2 separate regions of the Homo sapiens genome follow, and region 1 is linked to region 2. The links are contacts of gene promoters, found by promoter capture Hi-C in blood cells and fetal thymus (Javierre and others, 2016). All regions are on one chromosome and are shown on one strand. The core of a region is centred on a gene start or on the middle of the fragment in contact, and the rest is flanking DNA. Distances in the headings are between cores, read along the strand shown.

Evidence for each region. The method cuts DNA at HindIII sites, captures the fragments that hold promoters and counts their contacts. A CHiCAGO score of 5 or more calls a contact.
Region 1: the fragment with the promoter of GPR32 here is called in contact with the fragment with the promoter of C19orf81 in region 2 in 16 of 17 cell types (erythroblasts, megakaryocytes, M0 macrophages and 13 more); the score reaches 13.1 in erythroblasts.

The regions. Positions count from the first base shown.
Region 1 is chr19:50,765,919-50,771,994 of GRCh38, forward strand. It overlaps GPR32 (G protein-coupled receptor 32), which reads left to right and starts at 4,546. Exons shown (of 1, transcript NM_001506.2): 1 at 4,546-5,814. The coding sequence starts at 4,683. The coding sequence ends at 5,753. The HindIII fragment of the contact is 17,473 bases long and covers 428-6,076 here.
Region 2 is chr19:50,644,223-50,651,038 of GRCh38, forward strand. C19orf81 (chromosome 19 open reading frame 81) reads left to right here and starts at 5,223. Exons shown (of 5, transcript NM_001195076.2): 1 at 5,223-5,289. The coding sequence starts at 5,223. It also overlaps a transcript of SYT3 not described here. RefSeq lists enhancers at 2,190-2,484, 4,107-4,156. The HindIII fragment of the contact is 10,880 bases long and covers 1-6,816 here.

The sequences.
Region 1 (6,076 bases), core at 3,296-5,795, 120 kb after region 2:
GCGTCTCAACTATACTACTTAGGAGGCTGAGGCAGGAGAATTGCTTGAATCCGAGAGGCAGAGGTTGCAGTGAACCAAGATTGTACCACTGCACTCCAGCTCGGGCAACAGAGCGAGATCCTGTCTCAAAAAAAAAAAAAAAAAAAAGCTGGGGCCCTGTGTGCTTGGGTGATAGGGCTATGGAGACAGGACATAGTGGACAGAGGCAAGAGGCTTTTTGGAGGCAAAATTGACAGGGCTTTTTGATGAATTGGGTGTGCGTGTTGAGGGAGTAGGAGAGAGAGGTATTCAAGGATTCTACACCCCTATCTCAGATGAGCATAGTGAGGCTCGGGGTGCAGGGGAAGCCCTGAGCCCAAGATCACACAGTCATAATCCAGTGTCTCAACTAGAGCTTCGACTTATGCCTGTCTGCTGTGTAAGCTCAAGCTTTCCTCAACCCCAGACCTCTCTTCTCTGTCTGCACCTCACCCTTGGAGGACATTCTCAGGCTCAAAGACGTAAATAGCATCTAAATGTTTTTTGTTTTTTTTTTTGTAGAGGCAAGGTCATGTTGTGTTGCCCAGGCTCACGCAATCTTCCTGCCTCTGCCTCCCAAAGTGCTGGGACTACAGAGGTGAGCCACTGTGCCCGGCTGGCATCTAAATTCTAACGACTTCGACATGCCCGTATCCAGCCAGAAACCCCTCTGTAATTTTTTTTTTTTTGAGTCTTACTCCGTGACCTAGGCTGGAGGGCAGTGGCGCCATCTTGCCTCATTGCAACCTCCATCTCCTGGGTTCAACGAATTCTCCTGCCTCAGCCTCCCGAGTAGCTGGGATTACAGCCACGTGCCACCACACCCAGCTAATTTTTGTATTTTTAGTAGAGACGGGGTTTTGCCATGTTGGCCAGGCTGGTCTCAAACTCCTGACCTCAGGTGATCCACCCGCCTCGGCCTTCCAATAAGTGCTGGGATTACAGGCGTGAGCCACCATGCCGGGTCCCCTCCTGTAATCTTGCTGCTGGTATCCAGCTGCCTTAGTGAAGTTTCCCCGGGATGCCTTACAGGCATTTCAAAGGCGAAGTGACCAACCCCGAGCTCCTGGTCTTACCCCAAACCTGCTCTCCTGCCGTCTCCCCTATCCCAGTGCACAGCAACTCCAGCTTCCATCGGTTCAAAAGTCCTGCAGTCACCCCGACACTGCTCTCCCTCTCACCTCACACATCCAGCCCAGCAGCAAATCTAGCCAGCTCCACCTTGACCCTGGAATCTGCTTCCCACCCCCTCCTCTGACATCACCCTGGTCCCCATCCCCATCACTGCCCACCTGGGTTACTGCAGCAGCTTCCTCCCGGCCTCCTGCTTCCATCCCACCCCCTCAGTCTAGTCTCAACCTTAAAGTCACAGTGATTGTTAAGACCTAAGTCAGATATTGTTCCTTCTCTGCTCAACAGTCTCTTGTAACTCCCATCTCACTCACAGGAAAGGCCAGGAGAGTCTGCACTATGACTCACAGGGTCCTGCTCCATCTGCCCGCTTCCCTCTCTGCCTTCACCTCTTACCTCTCTTCCCATTGCCCACGTGGCTCCAGCCACACCGGCCTCCCTGCTGTTCCTTGAGCATTCCAGGCACCGTCCTGCCTCAGGACTTTGCACAAGCTGCTGGTTCTGCCTGAAGGGCTCTTCCTCCAGATACGTATGTGCCTCACTACTTTGTTATCTCCTCCAAATCTTTGCTCAAATGTTATATTCTTTTTTTTTTTTTTTGACATGGAGTCTCACCCTGTTGCCTAGGCTCGAGTGCAATGGTGTGATCTCGGCTCACTGCAACCTCTGCCTCCCAGGTTCAAGTGATTCTCCTGCCCCAGCCCTCTGAGTAGCTGGGATTACAGGTGGGAGCCTCCACGCCCAGCTAATTCTTTGTATCTTTAGTAGAGACGGGGTTTCACCATGTTGGCCAGGCTGGTCTCGAACTCCTGACCTCGTGATCCGCACCTCTCAGCCTCCCAAAGTGCTGGGATTACAGGCATGAGCCACTGAGCATGGACAAATGTTACATTCTTATCGGGGTCTTCCCTGACCACCCTGTTTAATGTACCAGTGGCCCCTTTCTGTCTCATCCTTCACATTCCCAGTTGTCCTTATCTTGATTTTTTTTTTTTTTTTTTTTTTTTGGTGACAGAGACTCACTCTGTCACCCAGGCTGGAGTGCAGTGGCCTGATCTCGGCTCACCACAACCTCCAGCTTCCCAGATTCAAGCGATTCTCCTGCCTCAGCCTCCCAAATGCCTGCGATCACAGGTGTGTGCCACCGCACCTGGCTAATTTTTTTATTTTTATTAGTGACGGGGTTTTGCCTTGTTGGCCAGGCTGGTCTCGAACTCCTGACTTCAAGTGATCTGCTCACCTCGGCCTCCCAGTGTGCTGGGATTACGGATGTGAACCACTGCGCTTGGCCTTACCTTGATCTTTTTCTAAAGAAAACATTTCATGATCTTCATTTCTTCCTGTCAATATGTGTCACCATGTGATATTAACTCCTTTCAGCCTAGAGGACTTACTTCCTTAAGCAATTCCTGCGGTCTGTAGGCCATATATTATTTCAGATCTGGCTTATCTGAAAATGCCCTTTTTTCACTTTCATTTTTGAAAGATATTTTCACAGAATATAAAATTCTGGATTGACAGACTTTTCTGCTGCCAATTTTTTCAAATAGTGGAGTAATTTTTAATATTTTGTCCAGATTTTAATTTTTTTTTTGTCTGTGGCACCATTTGTCTGACAAAGTTACTCTGACATTATCCAAAGTTAAAAGAACCTCCATCTCATTATTTTTACTTTATTTTTATTGAGACAGGGTCTCGCTTTATCACCCAGGCTGAAGTGAAATGGCGTGACCATGGCTCATTGCAGCCTCGAATTCCAGGGCTCAAGTGACCCTCGTGTCTCAGTCTCCCAATTTGCTGGGACTACAGGCACGTGCCACCATACCTGACTAATTTTTTTTTTTTTTTTTTTTGAGACAGAGTCTTGCTCTGTTGCCTGGGCTGGAATGAAGTGGCACGATCTTGGCTCACTGCAGCCCCTGCCTCCCAGGTTCAAGGGACTCTCCTGCCTCAGCCTTCAGAGTAGCTGGGATTACAGGCACGCACCACCAAGCCTGGCTAATTTTTGTATTTTTAGTAGAGACAGGCTTTTGCCATGTTGGCCAGGCTGGTCTCGAACTCCTGAACTTAAGTGATCCACCAGCCTCAGCCTCCCAAAGTGCTGGGATTACAGGAATGAGCCACTACGCCCATCTCACGGCTAATTTTTAAATTTTATTTTATTTTTATTTTTTTGAGACGGAGTTTCGCTCTCGTTACCCAGGCTGGAGTGCAGTGGCGCGATCTTGATTCACTGCAACCTCCGCCTCCCAAGTTTAAGTGATTCTTCAGCCTCATGAGTAGCTGGGATTACAGGTGGCTGCCACCACACCCAGCTAATGTTTTTTGTATTTTTAGTAGAGACGGGGTTTCGCCATGCTGGGCAGGCTGATCTCGAACTCCTGACCTCAGGTGATCCGCCTACCTCAGCCTCCCAAAGTGCTGGGATTACAGGCGTGAGCCACTGTGCATGGCCACAAAAACTTGTAATTATTTATTTTTTGTAGAGACGGTCTCACTATGTTGCCCACCTTGGTTTGGAACTCCTGGCTTCAAGCAATCCTTCTGCCTCAGCCTCCCAAAGTGTTGTGATTACAAGCATGAGCCACCACACCTGGCCCCTCCATTTCATTTATTATTTTTCCATAACACTTGTAGTCTTCTAAAGCAGTATATCATGAAGTAAATTTATTATATGTATTACACCTGACATCTCTCACTGGGATGTAAGTTCCATGAGGGCTTGTTTTGTTACACGAGTTATGTCCAGTACTTAGAACAATATTATAGTGTCCAGTGAGCCGAGATCGTGCCATTGCACTGCAGCCTGGGTGACATAAGGAGACTCTGTCTCAAAAAAAAAAAAAAAAAAAGAACAATATTATTGTGTCATAAAAAGCATTCAGGCTGGGCTCAATGGCTCACACTTGTAATCCCAGCACTTTGGGAGGCTGAGGTGGGAGGATCACTTGAAGCCAGGAGTTCAAGACCAGCCTGGGCAACACAGCAAAACCCCATCTCTACAAAAAAGAATTTAAGGCCTGGCAGAGTGGCTCACACCTATAATCCCAGCACTTTGGGAGGCTGGTGGACGGGTCACGAGGTCAGTAGTTCAAGACCAGCCTGGCCAACATGGTAAAACCCTGTCTCTACTAAAAACAGAAAAATTAGCCAGGTGTGGTGGCATGTGCCTGTAGTTCCAGCTACTTGGGAGGCTGAGGCAGGAAAATTGCTTGAACCTTGGAGGTGGAGGTTGCAGTGAGCCGAGATCATACCATTGCACTACAGCCTGGGTGACAGAGAGAGCAAGACTCTGTGTCAAAAAAAAAAAAAAAAAAAAAAGGTAAAAAAATTAGCCAGGCATGGTGGTAAGTGCCTGTAGTCCCAGCTACTCCAGGAGGCTGAGGGGGGAGGATCTCTTGAGCCTAGGAGGTGGAGGCTGCAGTGATCTGTGATTGTACCTTTGCACTCCAGCCTGGGTGACAGAGCATGACGCTGTCTCTAAAAGAATAATAATAATAAGCATTCCATAAAAATTATGGAATGGAGAAATCATGAATGGGGTCTCGGAGGGGACCAGAGGCTGCAGTGACAGGCAACCTGGGGTCCTGACACGTGATCGCTCTTGTTCCAGGAAGATGAACTCTTCCGGATGCCTGTCTGAGGAGGTGGGGTCCCTCCGCCCACTGACTGTGGTTATCCTGTCTGCGTCCATTGTCGTCGGAGTGCTGGGCAATGGGCTGGTGCTGTGGATGACTGTCTTCCGTATGGCACGCACGGTCTCCACCGTCTGCTTCTTCCACCTGGCCCTTGCCGATTTCATGCTCTCACTGTCTCTGCCCATTGCCATGTACTATATTGTCTCCAGGCAGTGGCTCCTCGGAGAGTGGGCCTGCAAACTCTACATCACCTTTGTGTTCCTCAGCTACTTTGCCAGTAACTGCCTCCTTGTCTTCATCTCTGTGGACCGTTGCATCTCTGTCCTCTACCCCGTCTGGGCCCTGAACCACCGCACTGTGCAGCGGGCGAGCTGGCTGGCCTTTGGGGTGTGGCTCCTGGCCGCCGCCTTGTGCTCTGCGCACCTGAAATTCCGGACAACCAGAAAATGGAATGGCTGTACGCACTGCTACTTGGCGTTCAACTCTGACAATGAGACTGCCCAGATTTGGATTGAAGGGGTCGTGGAGGGACACATTATAGGGACCATTGGCCACTTCCTGCTGGGCTTCCTGGGGCCCTTAGCAATCATAGGCACCTGCGCCCACCTCATCCGGGCCAAGCTCTTGCGGGAGGGCTGGGTCCATGCCAACCGGCCCAAGAGGCTGCTGCTGGTGCTGGTGAGCGCTTTCTTTATCTTCTGGTCCCCGTTTAACGTGGTGCTGTTGGTCCATCTGTGGCGACGGGTGATGCTCAAGGAAATCTACCACCCCCGGATGCTGCTCATCCTCCAGGCTAGCTTTGCCTTGGGCTGTGTCAACAGCAGCCTCAACCCCTTCCTCTACGTCTTCGTTGGCAGAGATTTCCAAGAAAAGTTTTTCCAGTCTTTGACTTCTGCCCTGGCGAGGGCGTTTGGAGAGGAGGAGTTTCTGTCATCCTGTCCCCGTGGCAACGCCCCCCGGGAATGATGGAAGACTTCAGCTGGAAGCTGGAAGCCGTCCTTCTTAGTTTGCTTGTGGCCTCTTACCTTGACTGGCTTCTAAAACCCTGCCAAATCCTGCCTCTTCTTTCAGGAAGTCTTCCAGCAACCCCTCATCTAAAGCTCTGTGGTAGAGACAGCTACTTACTCCCCAGTGTCCATTCTTCCCCGCCCCCCCCCCCTTTTTTTTTTGAGATAGAGTCTTGCTCTGTCACCAGGCTGGACTGCAGTGGCGCGATCTCGGCTCACTGCAACCTCTGACTTTCTGGTTCAAGCAATTCTGCCTCAGCCTCCCGAGTAGCTGGGATTACA
Region 2 (6,816 bases), core at 3,973-6,472:
TGATGGATGGGTGCATGACTGGATAGATGCTGGAAGGATAGATGAAGGGATGGACAGATAGGTGGATGAGTGAATGGCTGGATGGATAAGATGGATGTTGGAGGAATAGATGAAGGAATGGATAGATGAAAGAGTGGATGGTTGGGTGCATACATGGATGATTGGATGGATAGATGAAGAGTTAGAGTGGGGATGGATAGATGGATACTGCAGAAATAGATGAAGGGATGGATGAGTGAATGGCTGGATGGATAGAGGATAGATTGGTGGATAGATGGATGGATGTTGGAGGAATAGATGAAGGGATGGATGAGTGGATGAGTGGATGAGTGGATAGTTGGATGGGATGGATGGAAGCTGCAGAAATAGACGAAGGGATGAATGAGTCAGTGGTTGAATGGATAGAAGATGGATGGATTTGTGGATGGGTGGATGGATGTTGGAGAAAAAGATGAAGGAATGGATGGATGAGTGGATGATAGGATGGATGGATGCTGCAGAAATAAATAAAGGGATGGATGAGTGGAGGGTTGGGTGGATGGATGGATGATTGGATGGGTAGATGGAGAATTAGATAAAGGATGGATGGATTTTGGAGAAATAGATGAAGGGAGGGATGAGTGGATGGCTAGGTGCAGGGATGGATGATTGGATGATTGGATAGATAGATGAAGAGTTAGATAGAGGATGGTTGGGTGGATGTTGGAGAAATAGATGAAGGGATGGATGGATGGGTGACTGATTGAATGAGTTTTCACAAATACCTACAGATTCACACACATATGTGCCTGGAGGTAGATGCAGATACACTCAGAGGCATGCACACATGTGTGTAAATACAGATTCACTTGTTCTCCTGGTGCTCCTCCTGGAGAGAGCAAACACTGAGAATGGGGAGGTGGGGAGACACACCTTTTGGCCAGGGCTATGGCCATCCCTGCCACCACTGCGGCGCTGACAGTATTTCTGGAATTGGAGGAAAACGCTGATTCAGGGGTGTGTGTTTTAGACTGGGCACCAGGCCAGGAAGTGGGACAGGGATGGCCCAGAGAGATGGATTGAGTGGCAGAGGGAAGTCGGTCGGAGTAAGGCAGAGAGACAGGCAAGGCGACAGAGAGGTGGAGACACACAGAAGCAGAGAGATGGGGAAATAGGCAAAGTCATGGAGGCAGAGACAGAGACATAGAGAGAAAGGGAAGGAAAGAGAGATGGAGACACAGAAACAGAGATGGGGAAATAGAGTGATGGAGACAGAGACAGATGTACAGAGAGAAAGACAGGGAGAGAAAGATGGAGATACAGAGACATACAGAAATCTACAGAGATGCAGACAGTGAGAGACAGAGATACAGGAATACAGAAACCTGTGATACAGGAATTCAAATTCAGACACACACTGTAGTCCCAGCACTTTGGGAGGCTGAGGCAGGCAGATAGCTTGAGCTCAAGAGTTCAAGACCAACCTGGACAACATGGTGAAATTTCAGCTTTACCAAAAAAATACAAAAATTAGCCAGGCGTGGTGTGTGCGCCTGTAGTTCCACCTACTTGGAAGGCTGAGGCGGGAAGATCGCTTGAGCCTAGAAGGTTGACGCTGCAGTGAGCTATGATTGTATCACTGCATTCCAGCCTGGGCCCTTGTCTCAAAAAAACCCCCCACGAAACCCAAACCCCCACAAAAATCAAATGCAGACACACAGAGAGAGATGAGGTAGGGTTCCAGAGACAGGTAGAGAGAAGGGAAGAAAGATAAAGACACAGAGAGCAAATGGAGGCACAGATAGATGGAGACATAGAGTCCCAAATCCCAGAGGGAAGAAGAGAGACACAGAGGAGCAGAGAGAGATGCAGAGGAGGAGGGACAGTGACATCCAGCCAAAGCTAGATGCAGAGTCAGAGGACTGGAAAGGAAATTACCTCCTTTTGGGTGCCTCCTTGGTGCCTGGCTCCGATTTGGGGGTGCTGCTGTACCTTGCTTCACTTAAGCACCAACAGCCCTTGAAGGTAGCATTGAGGAAGGCAAGAGATAAGGAAGACGAGGCTCAGAGAGGGGAAGACATTTGCCTGACATTGCACAGCCTGGGAGCAGCATTTGATGCTGGTCTGTTTGATGCCAGAGCCCATGTTCTCTTCTTCAACTTATGTTGGCTCGTGAAGACCAGGAGGGACAGGGCAGATGGGGTTAGGGGGCTACTGAGTGTGGGTCACAGAAATAGAGGGAAATAATCATGTATTCATTCAACTCATGTGTCCTGAACTTCCCAGAAGCCTGGCCCTTGTGGCGTGATGCCAGAGAGCCAGAGATGAGTCAGGAAACAAATTTCTGAGCAAGACAGATGGGGCGGAGGGCAGTGTTCAGAGGTCTGGAGAAGGAGCAGATAAAAAAACAGTCGGAGGGAGGAGACAGAAAACACAACTGGTAGGAGGATGAGTCAGAGAGGGCTTCCTGGAGGAGAGGGCACTTGAGCTTCTTATTAAAAGATGAGGGCATTTGGGGACATGGGGAAAGGTTGGAAGAGCATTCCAGGCAGAAGACACAGCATATGGAAAGAGTGGAGACAGAAATAAGGTGGGATGTGTGGGAGGGATTATTTATTTATTTATTTATTTATTTATTATTTTGTTTGAGACAGAGTCTTGCTTTGTCGCCCAGGCTGGAGTGCAGTGGCGCGATCTCGGCTCACTGCAAGCTCTGCTTCCCGGGCTCACGCCATTCTCCTGCCTCAGCCTCCCAAGTAGCTGGGACTACAGGTGCCCGCCACCACACCCGGCTAATTTTTTGTATTTTCAGTAGAGACGGGGTTTCACCGTGTTAGCCAGGATGGTCTTGATCTCCTGACCTCGTGATCCGCCCGTCTCGGCCTCCCAAACTGCTGGGATTACAGGTGTGAGCCACCGCGCCTGGCTGCGGGAGGGATTATTTATATAAAATAATTAATAAAGGGTAGGTGGAGAATGTTTGGAGGGGTGAGGTTGGGAGAGGGAGGTGAGGTTAGATCATGCAGCTCTTTCAGTCCAGGTGAGGGGCTGAAAGTTTGTCTAAGGCACTGGGGAGCCCTGGGAGGGCCGTGAGCAGGGCAGGGGCAGGTCAGTTCCGGGCACAGAAAGACCACTCTGGAGCCTCACTTGTGGGGAGAGGAATGAGGGCGAGAGAATGGAGGATGGGGCGGCCAGGAGGCTGGGCCAGGTGTGGTGGCTCACACCTGTAATCCCAGCACTTTGGGAGGCTGAGGTGGGAGGATTGCTTGAGCCCCAGAGTTTGAGACCAGCTTGGGCAACACGGTGAGACTCCATCTTAAAAAAAATAAATAGCTGGGCGTAGTGGTGTGGGCCTGTGGTCCCCATTACTCGGGAGACTGAGGTGGGAGGATTGCTTGAGCCTGGGAGGTCAAGGCTGTTATACCGCTGCACTCCAGCCTGGGGGACACAGTGAGACCCTGTCTCAAAAACAAACAAACAAAAAAGGAGGCTGGGGCAAGGGTCCCAGCAGGAGAGGACGAGGTCTGAGTGGCTGCTAGAGCTATGGGAGTAGAGAGGAGAGGAAGGAGAGGCAGAAGGAATAGAACTTGGAGACAGATAGGCTGTGAGGGTCAGGTGTGCCTGTGGTCAAGGCAATCATGTCCTCCATCCCGCTGAGATAAAATTGCCAGCTGGAAATGGAAGACAGCTTGATGGGAGAGAAGCAGATGTGAAGATGCCAGGAGGGGGTCAGGGCCCCCAGAACTGAGTAAGACTATTTCAATCTGGACTGTTTTAATTGCTAATAACGGAAACGCAAATCAAATTGACCTAAGCATAAAAGGAAGTTTATTGATTGGATGAGGGCTTCAGGCATTGCTGGATCCAGGTGTTCCAATCATCTCCAGGAATCCAACTGTCTGTATCTTTGGGCTATGCTTCCCTCGTGTTGTCTTTGCTCTCAGGCAAGTTATCTCCCTGCATGGTGATGTGGTAGCACCGAGAGCTCCAACCCTGGCTCTGACCAGCCCCAAAACCACAGGGGAAAAACCCTGTTTTCTAACAGGTCCAGCAAAAGTCCAAAGGTTGACTTTGTAGCCTAGATTGATTCTTAAGCTCGCCACTGAACAAATCACTGAGGAAATCAAGGTGCCACCACCTAGAACGAATACTTAGTAAGCAGGAACAACAGACAGTCCAGAGACCATCTGGATGTGGAGAAAGAGGAAGAGAAAGAGATACAAGTAACAGAGACAAAGACTGCAAGGACAGACAAAACAAATAAGCGAAGGTCCAGCTTCCTCTCCCACAATTCCTGCAGAGAGCTCTGCAGACCCAGAGAAAGGGATGCTGAACAGGCACCTACACGGCTAGACCCCTTCTCTCTAGCACGAGAGGCCCCGTGAGACCCCAGACCCAGAAGTCCAGGCCCCCATCCTCTCCTCCCTCAGACCCAGGAGTCCAGACCCCAGGCCCTCCTCCCTCAGACCCAGGAATCCAGGCCCCCACCCCTCCCCCTCCCTCTGGAGGCACCATGGCAACCAGGCCCCCTGCCCACCATCCCCTCCCCACTAGAGAACCCACTTTCGTTGGAATCTCGCCTGTTTCTAACCAGTTCCTGGCTGGGGCAGGGATGAGCAGAGGGCAAGTGGGAACAGAAAGGGGATGACAGAGGGGAGGGGGCCTCAAGGGGGCAGTGGAGGCAGCTAGGAGAGGATAGAGATGGGGCAAGGAGACTGGTGAGAGGTGGGAAGACAGAGAGAGGGTGACGGGGTTAGGGAGAGGCAGAAAACGATGAAGACAAGGAGGGACGGGGGCCTGGGGAGATGCTGGGGAAACTGATGGAGACTGAAGAGATGGAGCCCAGGAGAGAAGGAGGGAGGAGGAGGGCAGAGAAATCAAGCAAAAGAGTGGTGGAGACGTGGGGACAGAGGGGAGGAGGCAGGGGGGCAGAGAGATGGGGAGAGAATGAGGAAGGGAGGTGGAGAGAGAGGGGTGGGGAAAGGGACTCTAGGAGACAGAGAGAGATAGGAGGAAAAACAGGGAAATGGGAAAGAAGGGATTGGGGCACACAGGGAGTCCCTGAGGTCAGGGGAACCCAGATCTCCACATGGTCTCAGCCTTCCAGTTCCTCTGTAATTCTACCCCGGGGCTTCAAAGAGGAGGTAGAGGAGGCAGCGGTGGGGAGAAGGAGCTGGGGTGGGTGGCCCAGGCAGAGCCTCTCTTGCCACCTTCCTGAGACATCCCTCACCCACCTTCCCAGGATGCAGCCAGAGGTGGAGCCCGTGTGCTTCCCTGCCATGGGCAGCCCCACCATGCACAGGAAGGCAGGTACTGAGCTGTGTCTTTGGGGGAAGGGGTGGACTTCCTCCATCCAGGCAGTGCGTAGTAGCCCGGGCTCACAGTGTGGCCTTAAGCGAGTCACTGGCACTCCAAAGTGAAAGCCATCCCTAGCATTCCTGGATTCACCAGATTCCTGGAGAGCGGCCCCCTTGGACCTCAAACTACATTTCCCATGAGCCTCTGCAGTTCCTTGGCCAATGCCCTGGACTCAGAACTACATTTCCCATGAGCCTCTGGGGCCTAAGCAACACCTCTGAGGCCATTCTTCTCCTAGGTAACCTCACTGTCTTGTCTCCCACCCTGAGCTCAGCATCTTCCCCCAAAGCTGCTCTCCTCCTTCCTGGTTTCCATTTTCAAATGGCCCCACCGCCAACCCAGTCACTGGTGCCATCCTTCCACCTCCCACAATTCCCTCCCACAGCCCATCAGGCCCTATCTTCCTGCCCTCTGACTCTCCCTTCCCCATTCCTTCCTCTCTGTCCCCGCAGCCCTGTCCCAGGTCTCATCCTCTTCCATGTGGACCCTCTCCTCACCTCCTCCCTGGTCCCCAGTTTCTCTCCTCCTACCTATCCCTCCATGGCTCCAGAGAGGTCTCTCTGACTTCCTGCAGTGATCCTGGCTGTCCCTTGCTCATAACACTTCCTAGCTTCCTGTCACCTCTAGGACAGAGACCCAAAGCTCCAGCCTGGCTTTTGAGGCCCTGTGTGGTCTGACCCCTGCTGACAACTTCAGGCTCCTAGCCCAGCACTTCCTGCTAGCACTCTGTGCTGTAGCACAGCTCATGCAGTTACACTCATTCAACATTTATGGAGTAGTATCTCAGTGAGGATGCATGTAACTGCAGGTAATAGAAAACCAAACTCAGGACTGGGTGTGGTGGCTCACGCCTATAATCCCAGCACTTTGGAGGCCGAGGTGAGTGGATCACCTGAGGTCAGGAGTTCAAGGCCAGCCAGCCTGGCCAACATGGTGAAACCCCATCTCTAAAAATACAAAAATTAGCCAGGTGTGGTGCCGGGTGCCTGTAATCCCAGTTACTAGGGAGGCTGAGGCAGGAGAATCGCTTGAACCCAGGAGGCAGAGGCTGCAGCGAGCCAAGATTGTGCCACTGCACTCCAGCCTGGGTGATGGAGGGAGACTCTGTCTCAAAAAACAAAACAAACAAACAAACAAACAAAAACACCCAAAACCAAAACTCACTGCAGCCTTGAGCTCCTGGCTCAAGTGATCCTCCCACCTCAGCCTTCGAGGCCGAACAAATGCCCTGATGGCAAAACAGGCGTTGTTTCTCTGCCTTTAGGTCTCTTTTAGTGCTTTTGAAGGCATCTTTCTTTTGGAGACCCCACAATGCACCATCTCTAGCCTAGACTGAGGCACCCACGTGACATGTAATTTATATGTAGCTCCAGAAAAGTCAAGTGGAGTTGAGTCGACCAGTTGGCTAGTTTTGTTGATCGACGTTTGTTCATTTCGATTTTGCTGTTTTCTTTGCAGCGTTGTGGAACCAATCACATT